3 separate regions of the Homo sapiens genome follow, and regions 1 and 2 are each linked to region 3. The links are contacts of gene promoters, found by promoter capture Hi-C in human tissues and cell types (Jung and others, 2019). All regions are on one chromosome and are shown on one strand. The core of a region is centred on a gene start or on the middle of the fragment in contact, and the rest is flanking DNA. Distances in the headings are between cores, read along the strand shown.

Region 1 (4,443 bases), core at 1,480-3,979, 1.3 Mb before region 3:
GAGATTAGTCAAAGACCAAGTGGCAGAGAAAAAAAAATCTTTCTTTGCATATTAAGATCCTAGGCTTAGCTGATCTATATTGTTAATTCCTGAAGATTTCAAGTTAGCCTGCTTACAAGTTGAATTTCAAGAGAGAGATGGCAGTGATTTACGGTGACATCTATTAAGCTTTTATAGAACATAATACATGTGTTCTTGCTCCTACCATAAAATTAATTGTTGCTAATTAGTTAGGGCTGCCAGCTCGCTTGCATGTGAAAGTCTGTCACACTCCCTTCTCCTGGTCCTGTTAATTAGCCTTCCACAGCCTCCTACTGTCTCAGTGTCCTGTAGCTTTCCTCTCAATGTATGTTTCTTATTTAAACAAATGAGCCTGCTGTTTGGCTTTGGTTGGTTTTGGAGAGAGGTTTGACTTTGGGGGCATAGAAGTCCTTGTTGGCAGTCAATGGTGTCAGGTGAGACAAACCATTTTTGTACACCATCATACATTATGTAAGTGCATTTGACCCAAAATAAGTATTCCTCTTTCAAAGTTGTTTTTTAAATTGAGTATTGAATTTCCATGAAATAATACAATTAAGTTCTCAGGTACTTGGTTTTGATGATCGTTTCTGGGTTTCTGGAGTCTGGGATGGAGATCATTCTGGTGGGATGACAGCCCATAAGCACGTGTGCAGTGGAAGGAGCACTGGGCCGGGCAGCTTCTTGGTTGCAATGACAGCTGCATGGCATGGAGCATTGTAATGTTCAGTTGTAAGGGAGATGCTTTGAGGTGCTGAAGATATCATGACAGTGATCGAGTTTGTCCACAGCCCTCACAGCCCTTGGAGGAGCTCTGACTCAAGTGTTCTTGCCTAGGGAGTACTGGTTGTATAATTGCTGTTGACATTTCCGTGGTAAAAAGAGGTCAGTTCTGTTGGATTTTTCCAAGAGCAGGCAGCCTACTTTGTCCAAGCAGAGTAAATCTAAGAGTGACAATCTCATGCAGTTATTATCACATATAATGACAATAAAAAGAAAGGGTTTTTCCTAAATACAGTTCTGCACCCAGTGAAGCTTGTTCACTCCTCTGCTCAATGAGCCAACAAAACAGTCAGGCGCCAGAGAGAGAAAAATCCTGTTTGCATTGATTGCGTCCTGAATGCCTCTGCCCACCTCCTGGGAGGCAGCTTATTTCACACATCCTCATGACAGAGTAATGTGACTTCATTGACTGGCAAGCAGCTGTCAGTGCAGCCTGTGAGGTGTCTGGGTGTGCCCACACACCGAAATCAAGAGAGAATGGAAAGCACAGCACTGCAATTGAAATTTAAAGGGGAAGTAAGTCTTTATTACAATTGACTTACAAAAGTGGAGGCTGTAGCTATGTTCAAATACAATCACGTCTGTGAACCCACTTGTCAAGCAACAGAAAGGCACAGTTTTCATTCATTCATTCTTTTGCTTTGGAGCAGGGCTTCACATAACAGGTGCTGGAAAGGCAGTATCAGGAACCAAGACTCCAACAGCGCCAAGCAATCAGGTATTAGGAACTGGCTGGCCATCATACACATTGTCATATGCATTGATGTCTTCCTACCTCTTTTCTGCCTCCTTTGCCCCTGTCCTTTGCTCCACAATGGGGGCTTCTTTGCATCTGCTTCTGCACCTGTCTTCACCTGCATGTCCTTGCCTGACATGGGTCCAGTGAAAGGTGACACATGACCACACCTTCTGACATTAGATGCAGGGATTCACATACCATGACTCCATGGTTATTTGCACTGGGGAGGTCTGAAGGGGATCCACACAGTGTTTATGCATGAGTGTAATCTTTTTACTTCTGAAAAGCCTGGGATAGAAGACCAATGGATGAAATAAGGGATCTTTTATGACAAATTTATATGTTTTTTAACAAACTCTTTGCTTTGGCAACTCTGTGATCACTTAATTTGGCAGCATGGTTAAGGGAAAATATGATTGAGAAAGCTATTTATGTTCCTGAGAGTCATGTTGCGTATGGTAGCCGAGTGAATAATTCTTTCGTTCCGATTATAAAATCACTTGGCTGTTAGAATTTATAGCTTCCCTTTTATTTTCATCACTACCACTATAATCTAGAACTTCATGATAATGCTTTTATTAATGCAACAACCTTCTAGCTTGTTTCTCTGCTTCTGGGCACTTTCATTTAATACACCATGCATATTGCTACCAGATGATATGCTATTTAGATAATGCCATTCCCTCATTAAGGAACCTGCAATAGCTCCCATCTGCTTATACAATCAAATCTAGACCCCTTCATCTAACCTTCAAGCTCTCTATGGTCTGGTCCCCTATCTACACATACATTGAAACTTACATGCCACCACCTTGCGTCATACCCCTGATTGAGCAGAGGAATCCTAGTCCTACCACCCTGCCTCGGTGCCTTGCTATTTGCCTTTTTTTAAGATCCCTACTTTGCCTCTCTGCCCATTCAGATAAATACATTTTTCACATCTCACCTTAGACCCTTTTGTGTCTATAAAGCCTTTCCGATAGTTACCATCCACATCAGCTTCTTTCTTGAGTTCCTATCACTCTAGTAGGCAAATGCTTGGCACTGTTTTTAGTCTAGTTTCTTGCAGTGATATTAGTGTCTTATCTACAAAGCTTCATCTCCAGGATGAACTTTTTGCTTTCTTGATTCTTAGTCTCCAGAATGCCTAGTATGCTCCTCTTGTGTACAGAATATTGAACTTGGAATTGAAAGGCCAAGTTTAAGGCCTGGCTCTTTAACTGACAAGTCATGTAGCCTTGAATGGGCCCTTGACCTCTTTAAGCCTCTGTTCCCTTAGCTGTAAAATGGAACTCAAGATATTTTCACAGCCCATTTCACCGAGTCATTTTAATGCTCAAATAAAATTGCATGTGAGAGTACTTTATGAGCCTTCAAGTGCTGCGAGAACAGAAGGCCCCATTATTATTGTAGTTTGTCTGTAATATTTAACTTAAGTTGAACCAGGAAAATATATCTGTGAGCCATTGTGTAATCTTGAGGGCCAAATTGCTAAATAGCAGTGGCCGCACCATATAACATTTATTGTACATTTCATTGTTCAGAGTGCTTTTTATTAGGATTACCATTCTGTTCTCTCCAGTGCCTCATGAGGTTGTGAGGATCAGGTATTTTTATTCCCACTTTGCACCTAGAAAAAGGAAATCAAAGGGAACAAATACAGTAAGTGAATTTCTGTAAGTCACGTAGTTAGTTGATGGCCACAATTGAACTGAAGCTTCCATTCTGCCTCTTATTCCTTGCCTGAAAATTGTGGTCATTTTCAGTCTCCACTTTATCACCACCAGACCCCTGCCTCTAGGACGCTTTCCTCTGTGGTTTTCACTTTTCCTACTTTGTCTCATTGGTTCTTGTACAGCAAGGGTGGCTTTATATTGGCTAGCAAGGATCTCACTCCTGTTCATTTCATTATAATTACATTCACATTCATAAGGTGGAGGGACATTTTTTTTCTCTTTACAAATACTGTTGGTTGACTGAAGTAGTCTTAGGTTGGGGGACCCTAGATCAGAGAAGAGACCTGAGTTCAATGTTAGGTCCTCACTTTCTTTGCAGATGGTTTAATTCTCTTGACAGGTCAGGCTTTCCCTAGAGCCTTGTCCACGCGGGCGAGACTGAGACCTGTCTCTTTTTGGCCTAAGGATAAATAACAGGCTATCTGGTATGCTTCCAGACTGGATGTGGCAGTGCACACCACTCATCCAGTTGTCCCTCCTTTGTGCTTAAGCTCTTTCCCACTCCTTCCGTCTGTTGCACCTGCTGGCCCCAAGCCTGGAGCTATTCTAGCCTCCACCAAATGGGGCAGTCCTGCCTCTACTGCTGACTCCACTACAGCATGTTCTGAGGTGAGAATTCTTCTACTCTATGTTTCATGCATTAACATGGAAGCCATGCCCCCATCTCCCTTCCAGAAATCCGTTGAAAAATCTCATCCATTAGGACTTACATTGCCCTTCACTTCACCGTTATGGGTAAGAGGCCAACTGATGCCCTCACCTCACCAATCTAAAGGGATTTCTTCAATACCTTTCTAAGGAGGTGCTGCTGGAAGCATTAGAATCTTTCAGCCATCCCCACAGGGACAGTGTCATCAGCAGATTACTTCCTCAACTTCAGCATAAATTCCAGTATAATTTAACATTGGCTTATTCTTGAGTGAATTTTTCCAATATAATCTACTCGGAATATTTGATGCCATTTTAATACTTTAGACCATGCCAATCCCAGATGTAAATGGTTCATACTAACATATAAGAACAGAATTTTTTATCACCCAGAGTAAGTAGTTCCCTGCATAATAGCATCACTGAAGCTCTCCCAGGAGAAGGGACTTCATGACAAAATGTGGGAGCCATAACAGCAGCCAGATTAGTCTGACCCTCTGCAGTATCTTCACCAGG
Region 2 (4,213 bases), core at 1,595-4,094, 1.4 Mb before region 3:
GCATAGTTTGGCTTTAAAAACAAAACAATAAACAAACATGATCAAATTCGACTTCTTAAAATGATGCATAAAATCATTTAAGTGAAAGATGGTGATCAATTATATCCCTTGAAGTATGTTTTCACTATCTGGAGTGATATGAGGGTTTCATTTACAAAGTCCAGAGATGGTTTGCAGGATTGTAGAGCAATCTGAACAGGGCTGAATTCCTCCCGAGCACTTTCCAATAGCAAGTCTGTCTACTTTATTGCAGGGCCCAGAGGTTCCCCCAAGACCGCCTGATAATAATTTGGTATTTGGAGGCTCCTGTGTCACTGCAGGAACTAAAGGAGGCTAAATCCATGCCTGATGGAGGAGAAGAGTTCTATGGTTATCTGCAAATTCTGGCCAGACAACATCTTGACGTCACTCCTTAGCTTCCATAACCTAGCCAAGCAAGAAGTTGCCTTTCCAAGACAAAGCAGTGTGCTCTAATGACTAACCCCTCAAAGTACTATGCCACTTTAACTATAGACCCATCTCCTCGATCAATCAGGATGGCAAGATGGAGCTGAGGAGCTCAGCAACATCAAGTCTGGAGTTGGTCTTTAACTCAACTAGCTCGTTTAGACGTGTCTGAACACCACATCACCTGACAGCACGGGGTGGTTTCCCAGTAAAATTTACAAACTCAGCTCAAGGGCAGCTGTGTTGCTTTCCTTTCCTTGACTGCTGAGAAACTTTTTGACAGGGAACAATGGAAACACACCTTCTGAGCTGAAACAAACAAACAGAAACAAAACATACTAACCAGCAAAATCCCCAAATCATCAATCTTGGGTTCTCTTGAAGGGCAGGAGTGTGTTTTATCTTCTCCCGTCGGAGCAAACACTATAGATGTCCTCCCTAAAATTCTGTCTTCCCTAGAGCAGCCTTGTAAATTAGCTAGGGTCCTAGGGTTGAGGCCTAAATCAACTTAAAATTGTCTCTAAATATGTACCTGGATGTGTTTGTACTTGCAGAGCATGCCCTCTTCATGTGCCTAGGGCTAGTAACTCCCTGTGGCAGAGGCATGTAAAGTATTCTGACTTTTTTTTTTTCAACTTAATTCCATTTCCAATGAAATGGATTTTTAAAAATTTTCTCCAGAGTGTGCCATACTTCTCCAGCTATTATAGTTAATGTGTGTGTATCCTTGTGTATATGTGTGTTTGTGTGTGCATATGTGTTTTCCTAGTGGTTACATGCTTACTAGGCAATTATGTAAATAAGCACAGATTCATAGGCCAGCTAGGCCTGAGGAAAGAAGACATTATAAAGGGAGGGAGTATTTTAACATTAGCTAAAGCTATCACACAAGGCACCCATTCTGCTCCCCTCAACAGCCACAGCCCACTTCGTCCTTGTCTTACCAATAAGGGGAAAGGCTGGAGGTGATATTTTTCACAGAACCGCAGAGGTTTTGAACATATTTGCAACATTACTTTGAGTACACATGAGCAAAAATTCTGAATTACATCCAGGACCCCAGAAGCTCATTAGATCAAAGAGTGCGGGGCCCCTCAGAGTTACCAGAGATTATCTGCAGACTTCAGTGCAATCGAATGACCATGGTCCATTTTGATGGTCAGAGGTAGGACTGAAAAACGGGTAGAAACAATTGCTTTAGCGCTTCCTTCTGTACTTTGCCTATTAATGTTTTGTCTTTCAAAAATATATTTTCTCCTAATTGTTTAATTGGCCAAATAATGGCTGCTTTGGGAGTTGTTTGTATGCCTTGGAAGGCCATGGCCTGCACTTTAAAAATAAGCTAAGTCCATTCTGCCCAGCACGAGCATTAGGACAGAGAATGCACTTATTTTAGGATCCTTAAAAATTGCTTCTTTTATGGCACACTGGGTTGACGACTCATCTCGTGGGAGCCTTCATGGCACATTGCTGCTGTTCTGCAGGTCCCAATACAATTCCTTCCCCCTCTCAGTGCCACGGCCCCCCCATTGCTAGCTACAACAATTTGATATCATATTCCCTTTTCAACTCCAAAGGAGATGATAAGAAGCTATCAAATAATGCTTTAAAAAAGCAACTTGAGTTTCTTAAAAGAAAGGAAATGAATACATGCTGCATAATTACATTTAAAATGTAAGCCATGTTATTATAAGCCGCACTGAGATGAAGATTTGTTAGCAAACCAGTTTCAAGCACACTCACAGTGAAGTAAAATCATGTTTTTAGCATCTGACCATTGGGTAATATTATTCTTTGTTATCAAAAGAGAAATATCACCCAAGTATAGTATACTTAGACCTCCTAGAGGAAACACTCCAGTCCTAAGCTTGGTGTCTGAAAAGAAAAACAAAAATAAAGATTATGGATTTAGGTCAGGGAGACAGAGTGATATTCTGAAGACTGTGTTTACTCCCTCATCATCGGCCAACCAAGATGGAGTTCTGCATCCTGCACATATCAGACATTTCAGTCCAATTTCACCAAAGCATCAGTGATGTTCTAGAAGCATCCCAGCAGATGGAGGATCCTAATGTATTTGTTCTGGGTATTTCCCAAGGCCCAGCCTGACTGGAGTGTGTGTACCAACAGGATGAATCCAATCAAGCTACGCCCCCATTTTGGTTTCGGATTGGCCACTCTTGCATGTGCTAGTAGATTGTGGACCAGGACCAGCTGAGCAAACACAGTTGCAGAGTAGCCTCCTATGTTGCTAAGAAGCTCCTGCTACCCAGGTGCTTTGAACAATTGAGTGCTCCCTCTGGTTAAGTAGAGATGGCACCACCGGAGTTTTTCTTGGATGTGAGGCTCAATCCTTTACGGCAGCTATTATAACAAAGTGAAGGTTTTCTCCCTGGGAAATGCAGCTTTTCTCTGTCTTTACTAATTCTGCCAGCCTGTGAGAGTAACCACCGTAGCTGGGCTTCTTCTCAGATTAATTGTCATGCCAGGTCTCCTTCCTGGGGAGCTGTGATGCTGCTCTGAGGTTGATTGCTGAGGTTGTAGTGGGTTTTTGTTTGTTTTTGTTTAGTTTTTCTTGATTGTTCTTCTTTCTCTTGAATGGCAAGAGAAGAAACACTTTCTCTAACCCACGGCCAGGAAGGAAATGGGGAGAGAGCTACTTCTTAGTTCAACCTGGTTGCCACATAAAGGAATCTCTCTCCTTGGACTCAGCCCCTAACTGGAAGCAAGAGCCACTGCCCTCTGAGACTGAGAGAGCAGCCCGAGGAGGAGATGAATCCATTCTGCCCTTTGTTTGGGTTTGCTTCCTGTCAGTGAGAGAATGCTGAGGCAGTTCCTGTTATGTGAAACTTTCATTTTTAAAACCAGGACAGTCCTAAACAGACTGGAATGAGTTGGTCAATCCCAGTTGGTATAGGCCCAATGATTTTTGCTAGTAAGATAGGATTGTCTTCCTCACCCAAAATGCCTTCAAGTGCCCTAAAATGGGTATTTTAAAATAAGAATAAATAATGTAGATTTAGTAGAAAACCTGGAAAACATAAGAAACAAAGATGAAACGAAAAGTCCCATGTAATTCCACCAGTTAGAGTTAACCACTGATATCGTTTGGATATATGGCTTTCTAGTCTTGTGGATATCCTTTTAATCTCTTGTAATATAAAGTCTGACCATATGTGTCCTTGCATTTGTTTGTACTGGACTCTGTTAATATTTCTATAGTAATGGCTCACTTTGGGGAGATTGTGCTGCACAGTGTGTAGGAAGCACATTGGGTGTATTATTCCCAGTTTTGTATTTTGTATTTCCTTGGAGATGTGCAGGGGTTAAGAGCGGGGGTCTGGCCATAGCTGGCCACGTCAGACTCTCATATGGTAAGTATCACAGAGCACATGAGGCCTGTGTTATGCGCTGGAAAGACTCAGGAAATGAGAGGCTCTCTTGTTCTGACAAGGCAGGCTGAGAGCTCTCATTTAGGGTCATCACTCCAGATAACTCCAAATGCAGTTTATTGCTCAACTGAAGCAGATGATCACTTTTTGCCTCCAAGTTCTTCACCCTAGCTAGCTCCTTTCAAAGAGCCGAGTATGCTGGATCTTAAAGGGCCAAACTAGTTACATCTCATACATTTCCTGATGTTTAGGGATGCCTTCACTTCCATCAAGGATACCTTGGCTGTGCAAGGACCTCTGATAGCTGGAGTCTCCTTTTGGTCACTCCCAGCTTTGCTTAAACTTGATGGAGTTTGCTGTCCAGTGATCCCCGG
Region 3 (4,429 bases), core at 1-2,500:
TTGAAGTAATTACTTTTAGAGAGCTTGTTTGGAGGTTCTAGCAGGGGAGTGCAGCTACTCATATACCCTTGCCCAAAGAACGGCCCTCCTCTGTTGGGGAAGGTTGTCCGCAGCGTCTGGAAGGACGCATGTGGACGGATGAGGGAGGAAGGAGACATCCACCTAGCCAGCCAGATCAGACAAATTAACCCTGGCCATCAGTGGGGTGACAGATGTTGCAGCCAGATCACCCTCACATCCGGAAATAATTGCTTTTAAAACGCAATATTTGAAAACCTGAATTTTCTTGGGTAAGCAACTATTATATTGCTAATTTAACGAAACTTTTTTTAAAAATATTAATATACTTAAATTTTAGAGCAATTTTAGAATTGGTTAGAAAGTACAATGTTCCCACAACCCCCCTTCTCTGCACCATACACACAGCTTTCCCCTTTTTTTTTTACTACTTATGTTTGTGTGGTACGTTTGTTATACTTGATGAGCCGGTATCAATGCATGGTTACTAACTAAAGCCCATACTTCACAGTTTACATTACGGTCCATTCTTGGTGTTGTGCATTCTATGAGATTTCACAATGTGCAATTACATATATCCACTTTGATAGTATCATACAGAGCAGTGTTTTTTTTTTTTCTTTGAGATAGGCTCTCATTCTGTCACCCCAGCTGGAGTGCAGTGGCGTGAACACAGGTCACTGCAGCCTCAACCTCCCAGGCTCAGGTGATCCTCCCATCAGCCTCCCAAGTGGCAGAGGAAAAACAAAGGACACTGGGTGTGAGGGAGAGGTGCAAAGTCAGGACCAAGCATCCATGGGAACACAGGGGAGGATGAAGGCACTGAGGTTGGGGAGAGAGAGCAGAGCTATCAGTGTTGAAGGCCGGAAAGGATGAGGGAGTCTGCAGGCTCGGCCCGATCAACTGGTTCCAGCTTCTGTGACCTGCCTGGAGGAAGATGAAACAGGCTCCTCATCCTTATTGGTAAAGATAAACCCAAATCCCATCTCACCTCCCAGCTCTGGTCTTCCCACCTTAGCCACTGCCCACCTCACTCCATCTCTCCTTGCCAAGCCTAGACTGGCTTAGTTTTCACTGCTCTGTGGTCTCACAGTGCCCCGTGGCTATGGCTGTAGATGCACTTACCACTTGTTTTACAGTTGTCTCTTCACGTGGTCATATCTGTCTTGAGTCTCTGCACTCCCAGGGCAGAGGCTGGGTCTCATTCATCCAGCAGCCCCAAGGCCCAGCCCCACTCCTAGCATGTGTCATTGCTTAGTGTTAAGTGACTGTCCATTGTGACATGTGGACATTCTCAAGGTCACATAAGCAGCTATATGATGCTAAGCGATGGGGAATTATCTTGCTGCTTGGTGGGGGGTGGGAGACGGTGGAGGATGATGGAAAAGCATTTTTAAAGAGTGAACATTGAGTAGCTGAGTAGCTACTTTTTTTTCTGCCTCAGCTTGTGGCTGGGACCCCGGGCGCACGCCACCACGCCTGGCTAATTTATGTATTTTTCTCTAGAGATGGGGTTTCGCCATGTTGCCCAGGCTGGCGTGAGTATAATTTTTTTTTTTTTTTGAGATGGAGTCTCACTCTGTCGCCCAGGCTGGAGTGCAGTGGCACGATCTCAGCTCACTGCAAGCTCCGCCTCCCGGGTTCACGCCATTCTCCTGCCTCAGCCTCTTGAGTAGCTGGGACTACAGGTGCCGTGAATGTAATTTTTAATCAGTCAAGTTTTTCCTTCTATAGACATGGGCAAAGTGCAAATAAGAAATTGAGAGAGATAATAGAAGGTACAGCTATGCTCTTTGCACCTGGCCAGATATGGGTAGAAGTGGACCAGGGGCTACCTGGCTGTGCAAATTCTCTCCATGAGCCATGCAGCCGTGCTCCAGACTCCATTCCCCACCCATGGGAGGTCCCTGTGGCAATCACTGAAAATTTTCCTGAAACAGCCATTTCCCCAGAATGCAATCTACTGGGCATTTAAATAGTCTGATTGAGTTAATAACTTGTGAACACCGTGGCAACATATCCATAACATGAAGCTTACCGTGTTAAGCCGTTTTAGGTACACAGTTCTGTGGCATTCAGTACATTCACATTGTTGTGCCACCTGCACTGCCTTCCATCTCCAGAGCTTTTTCATCTTTTCCACCTGAATCTGTGTCCATGAAATAAATTTCTCACCCCCTGTCCCCTGTCAATGGACACCTGGGTTGTTCCTACCTTTTGGCTATTGTGAATAATGCTGTTATGAACATGGATATACAAGAAAGTTAATAATTTTAAGCAGAATTTAATAAATACAGAAGATTCTTCCAATGAGAAAATATTTCAAAAGCCTGCCATTCAAAGGTGTTCTGCAGAGCAACAGCACTGGCTTCACTTGGGCCTTTGCTACTAATGCAGAATCTCAGGCTCTGCCCTGGACCTTTGTTACAGAATCTGCTTTTTTTTTTTTTTTGAGACAGTTTTGCTCTGTCACCCAGGCTGGAATGCAGTGGTGCCATCTCATGTCACTGCAACCTCCCCACCTCCCAGGTTCAAGTGATTCTCCTGCCTCAGCCTCCTGAGTAGCTGGGACTAGAGGCGCCCACCACTATGTCTGGCTAATTTTTGTGTATTTTTAGTAGAGATGGGGTTTCACCATGTTGGCCAGGCTGGTCTCGAACTCCTGACCTCAAGTGATCCACTCGCCTCAGCCTCCCAAAGTGCTGGATTACAGGCGTGAGCTACCTACTGCGCCCGGCCAAGAATCTGCTTTTTAACAAGACCCCCAGGTGACTTATTTGCACCTTAAAGTTTGAGGACTGCTTCAAGACATAGAATCCATGGAGAACAAAAAATGAGTACTTTATTTTTTATTCTTTTTTTTTTTGAGACAGGGTCTTGCTCTGTCATCCAGGCTGGAGTGCAGTAGTACGATCTTGGCTCACTGCAACCTCTACCTCCTGGGCTAAAGTGATCCTCTCACCTTGGTCTCCTGAGCAACGGGGACTACAGGCATGTACCACCATGACCAGCTAATTTTTGTATTTTTTGTAGAGACGGCGTTTTACCACGTTGCCCAGGCTGGTCTTGAACTCCTGGGATCAGGTGATCTGCCCACTTTTGCCTCCCAAAGTGCTGGGATTACAGGCTTGAGCCAACACACCTGGCCCAATAAATGGGCACTTCATCATGAAAAGTTTCGGAATCACTAGCTAGTGGAAGTAAAAGCAGTAACCCATCAAGGCCCTCAAAGTAGGCTAGTTTTAAGCTGAGTACCGCTGGTACAGAGCCCTTGCCCCGCTAAAGGTTGGTGTGAAATGAAGCCTTCCCTGAACACTGCACAGCAGCAAGGGAGGATGGGAGTCCACAGTGATGTAACCACCACATGGCTCTGTATTTCAATAGAGGCTGAGGCTAGGGTGCACCTCCCTCTCTCCTCCATCTCTTGTCTGATGAGACCCACCTGGGACCAGGAGATTGAGTTCCTACTGGGGAATGAGCTTTCAAAACAGCTCCTCAATTAAGGCAGGTTTGTCTATAGTTAATCAGCTACTAAGAGAATGAAATTTCTCCGAATGTTTATATTTGAAATTTATGGTTCTTTTCAAAGAAGTTACTGTGGTCTTTTATTTGAAGGAAATACAGCAAATTTCCCCCAGATTTGAATATGGGACAATAACTCCCTAAATGTGTTGAAACTCTTTCCCTAAGCTCTTGCTTTGATTGATAATCCATTAACATATTATCCCTTTTTGCACAAGAAAATGGCTAAAAGGGACAAGAATTACAACGTATGAAACGTCTACCCTTAGCAGGATGCCATTTATGTGTAGTTAGCTCATCACATCCCCCCAAATTCTGAGACTGTTTTACAGAAGGTTACATGGCTACAAAATGACAGGAACCATGATTCAAATCCAGGCATATCTCACCCCAAACCTACACCTTTCCAGGCCAGCCTCCCAGCCTGCACTGAGCTCAGGTGAGCTGTATTTGGGTTTATTCTGGGTCGATGCTGTGTCTGGCCCATGCCACGTCTGCTCTAAGGCTCAAATGAGACACTGATGTTGCTTACAGCTCAGCTTAGCACAGGCTTTTCCATTTCCTGATTTCTCAGGTATCAAAACATGACAAGAAAGGCCATTTTTTTTTTGAGGTATTTCCTGCTGAGTGAAACCTAGGAAATACTGGAAATCTTAGGGACATCTGATCTTGTAGGGATTGTTCCCAACCCTTTCCTGTTTGAGAAAAAAAAAATCATTCTGGTGGGTCCGGTGACAGAGGGCTGGGAGGCGCCCTGCAACAATGAAGCACAGCAGGCCTCTGTCCTCATGGCCTGATTCATTCAATTTAGCATCCTGATGTGGAAGAGTGGGCTTATAACTGATCATGAAAAGCCTGAAGTCTGCTGCTAAGCGACAGATCTGCTGGC

What was found. Contacts are between HindIII fragments. The study calls those that stand out against the background at their distance.
Region 1: a contact is called between a fragment that was not itself captured here and the fragment with the promoter of C9orf153 in region 3, in 1 of the 25 tissues and cell types used here (dorsolateral prefrontal cortex).
Region 2: a contact is called between a fragment that was not itself captured here and the fragment with the promoter of C9orf153 in region 3, in 1 of the 25 tissues and cell types used here (dorsolateral prefrontal cortex).

The regions. Positions count from the first base shown.
Region 1 is chr9:84,916,722-84,921,164 of GRCh38, forward strand. All of the region lies in intron 14 of NTRK2 (neurotrophic receptor tyrosine kinase 2), which reads left to right. Among named protein-coding and RNA genes, the nearest start is that of NTRK2, 250 kb to the left of the region's middle. The HindIII fragment of the contact is 4,235 bases long and covers 613-4,443 here.
Region 2 is chr9:84,871,536-84,875,748 of GRCh38, forward strand. The region is part of intron 14 of NTRK2 (neurotrophic receptor tyrosine kinase 2); the gene reads left to right. Among named protein-coding and RNA genes, the nearest start is that of NTRK2, 200 kb to the left of the region's middle. The HindIII fragment of the contact is 6,869 bases long and covers 1-4,213 here.
Region 3 is chr9:86,258,407-86,262,835 of GRCh38, forward strand. It overlaps C9orf153 (chromosome 9 open reading frame 153), which reads right to left and starts at 1,251. Exons shown (of 4, transcript NM_001276366.4): 1 at 1,144-1,251. It also overlaps the pseudogene RN7SKP264. The HindIII fragment of the contact is 6,872 bases long and covers 1-4,429 here.